2 separate regions of the Homo sapiens genome follow, and region 2 is linked to region 1. The links are contacts of gene promoters, found by promoter capture Hi-C in blood cells and fetal thymus (Javierre and others, 2016). All regions are on one chromosome and are shown on one strand. Each heading gives the region's core, a stretch centred on a gene start or on the middle of the fragment in contact. The rest is flanking DNA. Distances are from core to core; before and after follow the strand shown. Region 1 holds the start of PSMA4 (proteasome 20S subunit alpha 4). Region 2 overlaps LOC105370913 (a long non-coding RNA gene).

Evidence for each region. Contacts are between HindIII fragments. The CHiCAGO score rates a contact against its expected background, and 5 or more counts as called.
Region 2: a fragment that was not itself captured here is called in contact with the fragment with the promoter of PSMA4 in region 1 in 1 of 17 cell types (fetal thymus); the score reaches 5.5 in fetal thymus.

The regions. Positions count from the first base shown.
Region 1 is chr15:78,536,916-78,543,003 of GRCh38, reverse strand. It overlaps PSMA4 (proteasome 20S subunit alpha 4), which reads right to left and starts at 2,560. Exons shown (of 9, transcript NM_002789.6): 1 at 2,465-2,560; 2 at 1,074-1,099; 3 at 785-827; 4 at 359-521. The coding sequence starts at 1,076. It also overlaps a transcript of HYKK not described here. RefSeq lists enhancers at 1,412-2,304, 2,413-2,522 and a silencer at 2,063-2,332. The HindIII fragment of the contact is 17,328 bases long and covers 2,435-6,088 here.
Region 2 is chr15:78,705,331-78,712,021 of GRCh38, reverse strand. It overlaps LOC105370913 (a long non-coding RNA gene), which reads left to right. Exons shown (of 3, transcript XR_932509.2): 2 at 3,917-4,034. Among named protein-coding and RNA genes, the nearest start is that of CHRNB4, 67 kb to the right of the region's middle. The HindIII fragment of the contact is 1,638 bases long and covers 4,561-6,198 here.

The sequences.
Region 1 (6,088 bases), core at 1,311-3,810:
TCATTTTATTTCATTAAACTGCCACAACCACTTTAGGAGGCTCTGAGGCCCAAAGAAATTAAATAATCGGTGCAAGGTCACATAGCCTGCATGGGTGAAGCCTGGAGTTGAACCCAAATCTGTGTGACTACTAAGTCTGTACTCTTATCATTACACAATGCTAGTTTCTCCACTAAGTGTTTGCCCTGCACTTAAAAGGAGTAACACATGGTACCAGGCCTCAAAGAGGTTTCAAGCAAAATAAAGGCACAATTTCAATTCTACCACATCGCACGGAAGAGCCCTCCCAAATTACATAGATCCCACTTATGTGAGAAAGTGAGATTTTTTTTAAACTCTTTCCTAAAATCTCACTTACTCATTGAGTTTATAAATTTTTTCAGAAAAAAAGACTTCATCAAGAAGCTTGTGGATGTTGCGTCTCTCTGCTGCAAGCAAAACACCATCATTTGCTAAAATTCCCAAACAGGTGCCTGCATGTCCAATAGCTTCCATGGCATATTCAACTTGGTATAAGCGACCTACAAAACAAAAGCAGTGAGAAGCCAAGACTCTCCTCTGTGCTCCTGCACCACTGGCCCAAAAGAAATCAGCAATGAAGCAAGCTAGAAACAAATTTCCACTTTCACTCTTCTATGGTATAATCAACCTGGTGATGATAATTGCTTCAAAGTACAAAAAGGATGAACTTTGCAACTACCAAAAAAAGTTTGTAATTTTTTTTTCTAAAAGTCTAACACATTTATTTTTAAACTTGAGGCAGATTAAACAATTTCTATTTTACCTTCTGGAGAAAATATAGTGGTCCTGGAGTCATATCTTCGAGACTGCAAAGGAAAAACACATGAGTGATTCCTACCCACTGAAAGTAGGCCAACTCCTGCAAGCCTACAAATGATCTTACAAAACCTATCCTGGTATACAAAGTTCAATAGGTGAGAGGAAACTGACAAGAAAAAAGGCACCTTCTCACTGCTTTCCTTCTATTTCAATTTTCCCACTCAAGTCTGTAAACTGAGTACAAGCAATACTGTTTATCAGGCAACCGTTTATTGGCATGTGTATTAACTCACCATGTTTTCTGAACTTTATATAGTTCCTGTAAAAAGAAAATCAGATCATCATTAAAATAAGATTCACAAATTAAAAAGCATTTGCTGACTTTACAAATCTGTTTTATTTACTCCCTTTATTCAGCTAAGTGTCAGGCATTATGCTAGATGCTGGAATACCAAAATGTGTAAAACCAGTTCCTGTCCTGAAAAGCTAATACTGGCAGTTAGGTGAGAGAGGCAGTCATAGATTATAATGTGGAAAGAGGAACCGGGGGTAGGGTGGGAAAAGGGATGATGAAAGAATCAAGAAAGTATTTTTTGAGAAATCGATACAGAAAATGAAAGTAAATCAGAGATGGGAGAGGCAGAAATAAGGCTGAGAACCCTTGGGTCTAAGAGAAAGAACAGGGGAAGAAAGAAGGGCATTCCACACAGAGCAGAAAGTATGAACAAAGGGTACGGAGGCAGGATAGTTTAGTGGGCATGAGATAAACTGCTGATGCTTTTAAAATATATATAAATAAGAGCTAAGCGAGTATCCAAATCACGCAGAGCCTTGAAAGCCAAGGCAAGAGGCTGAGGCCTTCTCCAGAGAGTGATCTGGGTCCTGAACTTGGGGGTGGAGGCAGTTATCTTGGGCACCATCAGTACCATTCGTGCAAAAGGCAATACTAGGTGTTCAGCGTTATTTGGTAAAGCCTCAGTCCAAGGCCCACATTTCCAAATACTGGAATATAGGGAATCAAGACTGGAAAGGTAAGCTGGAATCAAATCCTGGAGAGCCCGCGTGCCCAGGTAAAAACAGAATTTTATCTCTCAGCCAATGGGGCTCCTCTGAATGATTCCCAAGGCCCACAGGAACTGATTGGCATTTTAAATGATCACTCTGGCTGGTGAGAGACCGAGGGCAGCGAACTGGTTGAGGTAATTGCAATAGGAATGGTGCAAAGTAAGGATGGCACAGAGCAGAGAAGCAGGGAGGACACAGAGACACTCGCCGGGGATTTCTGATTCGAGCTTTAAGCACAACTTTCTGTTGTCTCCACGCCTGACGCCGGGCACAGCACTATTTTGAGTTCACCGGCACCTCCGGGAGAGCTAACTTTCACGTACCGAACTCCTGAGGACGGAAGCCACCCCAACTCTCGGTCCTGCCCACAGACCCCCACCCTCAGCCCGCCCCCTCGCGGGCCCCGGCGTCCAGGCTTGGCACTGGGAAGCCCCCGACGGCGGCCGGCGGGGGCCATTCCCGGCGGTCGGTCCGTCACAGAGGAGGCGGTGCAGAGTCATCGTGCCCACGGCTCCTCGGCGGCAACTGCAGGCCGGGACCGACTGTCTTGACGTTCACGACCCCCGCCCAATGGGAAAGCGGCCAAGCTTCCGCGGGCCCCAAGGGGCCAAAGGCTCACCAGATGGAAGACCCTGAAGACCTGAGATGTCCACGGAGCCCTTAACTCCACGGAAGAATAAACCACCACCGCTCACCGAATAACCGCTGCTAATATGGCCCCCGCGCATGCGCAGAACCGCTGGGTTGGGGCGGGGGGAGCGGGACGGCCGAGGACGCGGAAGTCCTTCTTGCGGGGCGGAGCTAGAACCCGTGCCCCTCGTGGGAGCTGGGTCGCGGGGGTGCTGAGGCTCTGGGGCGCTGCAGCTTAGGCTAGGGTCCTCAGCAGGTGGAGGAGTTGCTGTGCCATGGGGAAGAGGGCAGGAAGACAGTAGCCAACCAGGAGGTGGAATAGCTAATTTCTTTCTCTTACCCTTGGCGCTCTCCTTTCATTTTCTCTTCACTATTCAGACCTAGGATAGCAAATAGTGTGGACCGGCTTCTTAATTGCTATCATTCCTGTCCTGTTTCCCAAAATGGTTCCAACCACATGAGACTTTACCCCTCTCATCACCTTCCTTTTTCATTCTGGCTTTCACTTTTACTGCTGATGCATACATTTTGGACATACACATTATGATGAGGAAGGCCGGGTGGCTCATGCCTGTAATCCCAGCACCTTGGGAGGTCGAGGCGGGTGGATCACCTGAGGTCGGGAGTTCGAGACCAGCTTGGCCAACATGGTGAAACCGTCTCTACTAAAATTAACAAAAATTAGCCGGGTGTGTGGTGCACGCCTGTAATCCCAGCTACTTGGGAGGCTGAGGCACGAGAATCGCTTGAACTCGGGAGGCGGAGGTTGCAGTGAGCCGAGAGTGCGCCACTTCACTCCAGCCTGAGACTCCATCTCAAAAAAAAAAAAATTATGATGAGGGTCGAGCATGGTGACTCATGCTTGTAATTACACCGCTTTGGGAGGCTGAGGCAGGAGGATGGCTTGAGGCTAGGAGTTTGGAGGCTGCAGTGAGCTATGATCGCACCACTGCACTCCAGCCTGGGTGACAGAGAAAGACACTGGCTCTAAAAATTAAATTAAAAAAAATTATGATCAGGTTCACACTTTTGGGGGAATTTTCACCTTGGTCTCTTTCTCTGCTTTTCACCAGTCAGAAAGGATTTCCCTGACCAGCACAGTTAAAGCAATACCCTACCGTCAGCATATACTCGCACCATTTTATCTTCTTTACTGAAATTGTCATACTTGTTTCTGTGTTCATTATCCATCTCTCCACCTTTTTGCTCATTCAGCCTCGGTCCGTATGTAAACTATCTACTATGCATTTTAGGTTTTTTCAGGCTAGAAGGTTGACTAGATCTGGGTTAATATGAAGTCATCTGCTCACAGTCTCTCCCAAAAAGCAGCCCACTGGGCAGAAACTCCTCTTCATGTTGGTTGCAAAATTATTGGGGGATCTGGGCTTTGAAAAGGAGATAGCTTGGAAGTAAGTTACATTTTGAGGTCTCGCCTATCGTCTCTACTTTCCAAGCACACAGGGAAGTGAGCCAAGGCAAGATGGCAAAGAGCCACACGCAGGTGGTGCTCTGAAAGCATCCTCAGGTGGTGTAACTTATGGCATCTCTGAGGGCCCCTGCCTGCCACCTTAGTTCATTCTGCGGAATTCAGTGAACAGTCACTTTTAAGTGAGAGGTAGAATTTCTCAGGTCAAGAGAGGGATTCCTTGAGAAAAAGGGCAAGAGAAGAATGAGTCTGACAAGTGTGGGTGACTGAGTAGTTCGGTCTGATCTGAATGGAGGAGATAATACAGGAAGTAAGGAAAGGCATTTGAGGCCTAAGTGTAGAGTGCCTTTAATGCCAGAATTTGTTTTGGTCAGTAATGGGAAGACAGGATTAAAGTGATGTTTTAGGATGATGAACCCTCAACATCTCTCATCCCACATGTTCCTCTTACAATGTGCCACAGATGGTTCCCACTGAGAGGTTCTGTGTCCCCTTATTCTGAATCTGGGTGAGCCTGTGACTACAATGGAAGTGATATCATGTGACTTCCAAGAGCAAATCACAAATGGTGATATGGTTCTGTCTTGTCCTCTTGGGATGGTCGTTCTTGGGACCCAGGCACTGTGCTGTGAGGAAGCAAAGGCCACATGGAGAGGTGTTTGGCCAACAGCCTAGATGAAGTCCCAGTGTCACCTGCCAGACAGCTGAGTGAAGATTCCTCCAGATGATCCTAGTACCCAGTTGTAACCAGGCAGCTTAGCTTCAAACTGCATTAAAAATTTTTTCCCCTTTTCCTTGGGTTTAAAGATATAACCTTGAAGCAAACTGCAGAAACCTTTTCTAGAGTCCACATCCCTCCCTTTCTCATTGTATATACTCCCTTCACATTTATCCAACTGTCTACTAGTATCTAATTATGTGTCTTCTTAGAAGTTCCAGGGGTCAATCCTGAGACACACAGACCAAGTCTGGAGACCCAGCTGCAAAGTTCCAGAGATTACTTCAAGACAGCTAGTTAACAACCTGGCTGTTGTTGAAATGCCATCAGCCCAGGGTCCAGGTGGACCAGGACCCAAGATAGCCACCAGAATAAGACACACAGACACTGTACTCAGCCCAGTTCTTGTCTGCCTTCCTTATCAAGTTTTCCCTTTTTAAACCCCTGCCTTCTTCCTAAAAATAGAAGCCGTTAATTTGGATAGGAATCCGATTGCTTTCCCTTTACTATTTTTGGCTAATAAATTCTGTCTTTCTATTATACCTCACCCTTGTCAATTGGACTCTGTAAGAAGCAAGTGTTCGGTTACACAGTGATTGAGTCTCTCCCAGGCATCAAATCTCTCCCAGCCTTAAAGTCTTCCTAGCTGAGGCCCCAACACTGGGGGGAGCAGAGACAAACTGTCCCAGGGCCTGCCTGAATTCATGACTGCCAGAAACCATGAGCTAATAAAATGATTAAAGTTTTAAGCCACAATTTTTTTTGGTCATCACACAGCAATATATGTAACCAGAGTTTTTATCTGCCTACATAATATGAAGTGCAGAGGTTAGGGAGACTAAGAATACCAGAAAGTAAAGTTCTGTTGTAGTCCAGGGGCGCTAAAAGCCTGAACAGAAGAAGGCACTTGCAAGAGCAAAGAGTCTTTGCCAGACATATGGTATTGATTCCTAAATCTGGAACTGGGTTTTCTCCACGTTGTTTGAAAGGACCAGGACCTGGCACTTGTAGTGGTGTGTTCATTCTTACAGTTTATTCAACAGATCTTTACTGGGTCTTCTAGGGGCCTGGCACGGTGCTAGGTCCTGAAAGTAAAGTAAAATAAATATTTAATTTATGTATTATATTAGGGTCTTCCAGAGAAACCGAATCAATGGGATGGAAGGATGGATAGGTAGATAAACAGGAGGGGATTTATTATGGAAATAAATTATGGAGGCTAGGAAGTCCCACAATTGCTGTCTGTAAGCTGAAGAACCAGTGAAGCCAATTATGTGTTTCAGTTTGAGTCTAAAGGCTTGAGAACCAGAGGAGATGATGGTGTAACTCAGTCTGAGGCTGAGGACCTAAGAACCTGAGGGGCCGCTGGTTAAGTCCTGGAGTTTGAAGGCCAAGAACCTGGAGTTTTGCTATCTGAGGGCAAGAGAAGATGGCTGTCCCAGGAGAGAGACTGAATCCATCTTTCCTTT
Region 2 (6,691 bases), core at 4,130-6,629, 170 kb before region 1:
GCTATTCGAAAATATATAATAAATTGTCATCAATTATCATCACCCTATAGTGCAAAAAAACACTAGAACTATTCCTCCTATCTAGCTGGGGTTTTTTGTTTGTTTGTTTGTTTGTCTTTTGCTTTTTCAGACAGGGTCTCACTCTGCCCCCTAGGCTGGAGTGAAGTGGTGCAATCACAGCTCACTGCAGCCTTGACCTCTTGGGCCCAAGTGATCCTCCCACCTCAGCTTCCAGAGTAGCTGGGACCGCAGGCATGCACCAACATGCCTGGCTAATTTCTAAATTTTTTATAGTGATGGGATCCCCCTATGTTGCCCAGGCTGGTCTCAAATTCCTGGTTTCAAGTGATCCTCCCACCTCAGCCTCCTAAAGGGGTAGGATTATAGGCGTTAGCCACCAGCCATGTACTCTTGTATCTCTTAACCTGTTAGCCAACCTTTGGCTACCCCCTCTCCCTTACCCTTCCTCACCTCTAGTAAACACTACTCTAAGCAAATAGATCTTAAATATTCTTACCACAAAAATAATAATAAAAGTATGTGAGGTGATGAAAATGTTAACTTGATTTAATCATTTCATAATGTATGCACATATCAAAACATCACATTGAACACTGTAAACATACACAATTTTTATTTATCAATTATACTTTAATAAAGATGGAGGAAGAATTGAATATAATGTTAAAACAAAAAACAATTGCAGGCCAGGTGCGGTGGCTCACGCCTGTAATCCCAACACTTTGGGAGGCCGAGGCAGGTGGATCACCTGAGGTTGGGAGTTGGAGATGAGCCTGGCCAATGTAGTGAAACCACATCTCTACTAAAAATACAAAAATTAGCTAGGTGTGGTGGCACACACCTGTAATCCCAGCTACTTGGGAGGCTGAGGCAGGAGAATCACTTGAACCCAGGAGGCAGAGGTTGCAGTGAGCTGAGATCGTGCCACTGCACTTCAGCCTGAGCAACAGAGTGAGACTCCGTTTCAAAACAAAACAAAACAAAACAACAACAACAAAACAATTGCAAAACCTAAAGAAAATCATTAATCTAGTCCAGACCAGCCTTTTACAGATGAGGTCACTGAAGTGCAGAGTGGTGAACTGACTTGTCTGATGTTACACAGCAAGTCATGGCACAGCTTGACCTGAAACCCAAAGCCAAGTTGTTTTCTATTACCTCCAGGTCCTTCAGTCCAGCCCTCCTGGGGCTCTGCCTTGGGAACTGGTATTGGTGACAAACGGATTAGAGAGGAACATGCATGGAGCTCTCCATTTAGACTGACATATTCGCATTGTGCCTGGGCACCGGCAAGAAACAGTGCAAGCTCCAAGAGTGCTCGCCCCAACCCTTTTCCCCCTCCCCATCCTCTCTCATAACCAACTTCAGCTAAAAGGTCTGAGAAGAAAAGGGAATCTTAGATGACTCTCACTAGGGTGTAAATGACTCCCACCATGATTTTTGTTTTATTGAGACATAACCCCAAAAGCAGTTTGATGGATAGTGTGCCAGGCAGTAGGATGAAGACAGATGGGGAAACTGCCTGGGGTCATGGAGAAGGTGGAGGCACTGAGGCCCTGAGTGATTTTATAAGCACTTTAAGAAAGGTCCAGCACCATGATTTCTTACCTTCACTACCCAGGACCAATAAGGTCCCACGTCCTGACAGATTTTGTTTATCAGACAAATTGCACTCAGTCATGCTTCATTTTCCTCCAAGAGTTCCCAGGTTACATAGAATTGAGATAATCTCCCCACCTTGCCATCACCCCCACAAAGACACTCCATGTTTCTGTTTACAATACAGTCTTATATGGATTGATATTAGATTTTCAGGTGCTCTTTGCATTTTGCAACTATTGCTCAAGCTGGAGACCCAAAACGAGCACTAGCTTTACAGTCAAAGACCCCTGGGTTCCAGTTTCAGCTGAGAGACTGTAAGCACATCGCTAGCCCACTCTGATCCTGTCTCCTAGTTGTATAATCACCTCTTTCCCATCAATTGCGAGGCTGGAGAGAAAAGTGTCCACTCTGTGCCCAGTACACAGTAGGAGCTTAGTAAGCTTAAGCTCTCTTGCTTCCTCACTATCCTAAAGTGGTAGCGGAAAGACAGATGTGGGGAATGGCACCTGGGAGGCTCCAGCTGTATGCTTCACAATCCTACCAACGAAAAATCTGAATTAGGCTTCAGTTTCCCGTCTACAAAATGAGACAGGACAGGAGTGGGTAGGAAGAGGAGGAGCTTGGCCTTGTTGGTTTAAGCTGGGCTCGTCTGATTCTGTAACGCGGGCTTCATTGCAGGGTCCAGCCCACTCCCCAGCCAGGGCTTCGTGTGCTCTGAATGTCTTTTGGCCAAGTCCAAGGCTATCCAGGGTCGGGGTCGGGAGGCTGGGTGGAGGGTAGTAGGGTGGAGAGAAGCAGTTCCCGCATATAACCTGCAGGTGGCACCAGAGCAGCGCGGGAGCCGAGGGTTCCGCTCCAGCCTTCCTGGAGACCCGAGCAGGGCGGGGTAGGGCAAGGCAGAGGTTGTGCACACCGCTCATCTGGGCAGTGGCACAGGGCTGCGGATCAGTCCACACTGTTTGAAATAGACACATGGGTCGTCTGGCTCATTTCCTCTCTTTGGTAGGGTGATCATATGCTTTATCATCCAAATTCTTCGGAGAGTGAAAGGGACACTATTATAATTGCACCGGCACAACAGACATAACCTTAGCTGTACCTTGCAAACCAGAACATATTGCAACCCTACCCTCCGGTCACTTTTTCTTCCTTGTTTCCATTCTTTCTTTTAATTTATTTTCTTTTTAAACACACAGCATTCTCTTTCCCCCAAGCACCACTGTCTTTGAAAATGCCCTTGCAATTGGGATATTTTCAACAGGGCAACATCTGCTTTCGCATCTTGAGTCTGAACAGTGTCTCTGAACCCACCCCAAAGGCTGGTTTTAGCTTCCAGTCAGAAGACTCTGTTCTCTGGCTTACCATCCCCATGACTCAAGAATTAAAGATGTCAGACGTGGAACAGTGACCCTTATCTCAACTTTGGTGCCTCTTTGCTAAATTTATTCCTGTAATTTTGTTCTGAGTGCTCATGTCCTTTATCTCATTGAATTTACATATATTAGTTTATCAAATTACAAGCAGACAAGCCCCATTAAGCAGGATTCTTATATTTCCAAGATCACCCCATTACTCCATTCAACCCCAAATTAGCATGCCATTTATCTCCTTGTTTCTGAACCGTCTTCACTTAATAGTCTCGTAAACATCCATCCATTGCAAAAAGGACTCAAACTGTTCTCACTTCCATTTTTAGTTGATTCATTGATATCCAAGTAATTGATTTGTCTGGAGGAGTCATTAGTAGAGAACTGTGCCCTTAAATTTAGTTTTATAGTGGAATTCTGCTAATTAATATCTCTCTGTGTCATTCTCACATTGCAGCAAATGACCATGGGTTTCTATCTTAACCTAAAATCTAGGTTAGAAATTTGATCTTATCTGAGTAAGATATTAATAGATAATGTGAGGCTTTTTTAAATTTACTGAACATTTTCTCAGCTAAGAATGACACTCATGGTCACAAATATCTATGTAAGCAAGCAGAAAATTGGGCTGTAAATATATAAACACTTAAAATATCATGTTTAGAGACAAGATTTTCCTTTTTTTTTCTTTTTAGTAAAGTATATTTGCTATGGTTGGAATGTTTGTGTCTCCTCCAAAATTCATGTTGGAACTTAAACCCCCATGTGATAGTATTAAGGGGTGGTGTCTTTAGGAGATGACTAAATCGTGAGGGAGGAGCCCCCTCATGAATGGGATTAGCGACCTTATGAAAGGGCTTGAGGGAGCGACCTAGCTCAGTTTTCTTCTTTTGCTTTTCTGTTCTTTCCACCATGCTGGGACACAGCGTTTCTCACCTCTGGAGGACTCAGCATTCAAGGTGCCATCTTGGAAGCAGAGAGCAGCCCTCACTAGACTACAAACCTGCTGGCGCTTTGATCTTGGACTTCCCACCCACCAGAACTGTGAGAAATACATTTTTGTTCTTTACACATTACCCAGTCTCAGATATTTTGTTACAGCAGCACACATGGACTAAGACAGTATCTTACATACAGCGAGGTGCATATACCTTAAGCTACAACTCCTTACTATTTACATATGTGCACACTCATGTGACCGCCACTCAGCTCAAGATACAGAATGTTCCCATCAGCACAGAGGGCTCCCTCTTGCGCCTTCTTAGTTGCTGTCCCTGCAAAGTTAACCAGGATCCTGACCTCTGTCACCATGGATTAGTTTCACCTGTTCTTGAACTTCATATAAATGGGATCATTCAGTATGTGCAGGTTTGTGGCTGGCTTCTTTCACTCAACATAATCCTGTGAGATTTAGCCATGTTTTGGGTACTGGTAGTTGTTTATTTTTCTGGTTGTGTAGTTTTCCATATTTCATTTATTACCCTTCTGTTTTTATGTCTAACTCAGTGTTTTGTGGGGTATATTGGTCCTTTTTAGCTAGATTGATATTAAACATCTTATCAATGAAGCTTAGGAGATTTTTAGAAGACAAAAGCCTAATAAACTCAAGCCCCCCAAACTTAAGCCAAGTTTCCTTCTCACCCCTGCTTGAGTTGTTCTTCTTCATGTGGTATTCTTTTCCTCACAAAGCTGAGGGAAAATCAAGGAACACAAGAGCTCTTCATCATGTTATCAGCTTAGGGATGCTTGTCATCTGAATAACAGGGTAGATATTTATAATCCAAAATGTTAAAATAACTAGAGCAAACACTTACATAGCACTGACTGCTGTTCACAGTGCTTTACATATATTATTTTCCTCAAAACAACTCTGTGAAATAGACACTATTATTGTCATCCCCACATTTTAGATGGGGAAATGGAGGCACAGAGAGACCATGTAACTCTCCCAAGGTGGTAGGGCCAGGACTTGAACCTGGGTTTTCTGGTTTTAGAGCCTGCACCCTTCACCACCACACCATATTGTGTAGCATGATACTTCCTGTGGTTAAAGTGTTTTCTTATATTAGCTTGGGAGCTTTTCTGAATAATTCAAATCTTATAAATTTGCTTCAAAGAATACAAGAAATTGAAATGGAAGATCTAATATAGAATGTGTGGGATTCATGAATAAATTATAGGACTCTCTGGTTTTAATAATAATTATTTGCTTATCTTGTGACTTTTGTCAGGCAGGGTTATAATGTGCTATCCTCATTTTCCTCCTCTTCAACGGGAGGAGATGGGCTCAGAGACAGGCACAATTTATCATAAAGTCTCATCACACTTTCCCTCACCATCTGGAAGCTGGAGATAGGTTTGTGAAATCTTGGTTGAGAAAGAGTTGAATGCCACTTGTAGCATAGTGAGTTTTATAAAGATGGTTTTACTAGCCAGTTCTGTTGCAGAGAGTCCTGCAAGTTTTTGCAATTAATGTGACCAACAGTTTTCTCACAAAGATTATCAGGGCTCTAGAGGAAATTATCTTCCAGTTTTATTCTGCTGCTAAAGTGCTCTATTTCTTTATAGATGAACTAATTAATTCTTGGTCACTTGTTCTCCCTTAGACATTTCTCTGCCTCTTTATGCTGTGCTTTATGTCTCTTTATGCTCAGCCCCAGGTTTTTCCTTCTAACTGCAAGAAGAAGATTATTGAAATTTTCTCTCTCTCAAACTCCCAGGCTCAAGTGATCCTCCCCTGTCTACCTCTTGTGTAGCTGGCATTACAGGTGTGCACCACTGCACCCTGCTGATTTTCTCTTTAACCTTCCCCCTGAGCATGTGTACACACACACACACACACACAAACATACATATAGACACACAGACCTCCACATGTATACACACACACAGAGACACACATATATCCACACATACTCATTAGAAATACATTTACACACACACACACGTGCACACACACGTATACCCACCTTCCTTCCATCTTCTTCTCAGGACTCAGGGCTCTCAGAGTAGTGGAAAGAGTCTTGTACCATGAGTCAAGGATCAACTGTGCAACTTTGCTCAAGTGTCCTTCCTTTTGAGATCTCATCTATAATAAACATTCTTATGTTTATTATAGATAACCAAAATAACCCATCAATTAGGGTTATTTTGAAGATAAAACAGATAGGAAGGATAACAGAATGATGACATGTTAAAAAATTAAGCTTGACCAAAAAAAGGTCTGGCTTTTGTCCTAGACTCCTGGGAGGTAATCTTCAACACGTAATGCCTGATAGGAATATCTTTGCCTGGGGATCTTGGGTCATGATGGATAGTCTAATAATAAGATGGTGGGGGCCGGGCGCGGTGGCTCACACCTGTAATCCCAGCACTTTGGGAGGCTGAGGCGGGCGGATCACAAGGTCAGGAGATCGAGACCATCCTGGCTAACATGGTGAAACCTCGTCTCTACTAAAAATACAAAAAATTAGCTGGGCGTCATGGTGGGCACCCGTGGTCCCAGCTACTTGGGAGGCTGAGGCAGGAGAATGGCGTGAACCCAGGAGGCAGAGCTTGCAGTGAGCCGAGATCGCACCACTGCACTCCAGCCTGGGTGACAGAGTGAGACTCCGTCTCAAAAAAAAAAAAAAAGAAAAAAAAAAAAAGATAGTGGGAACTAGCCAAGCCAGGAAAAGTGACTATGTGATTTAGAGTCCAGG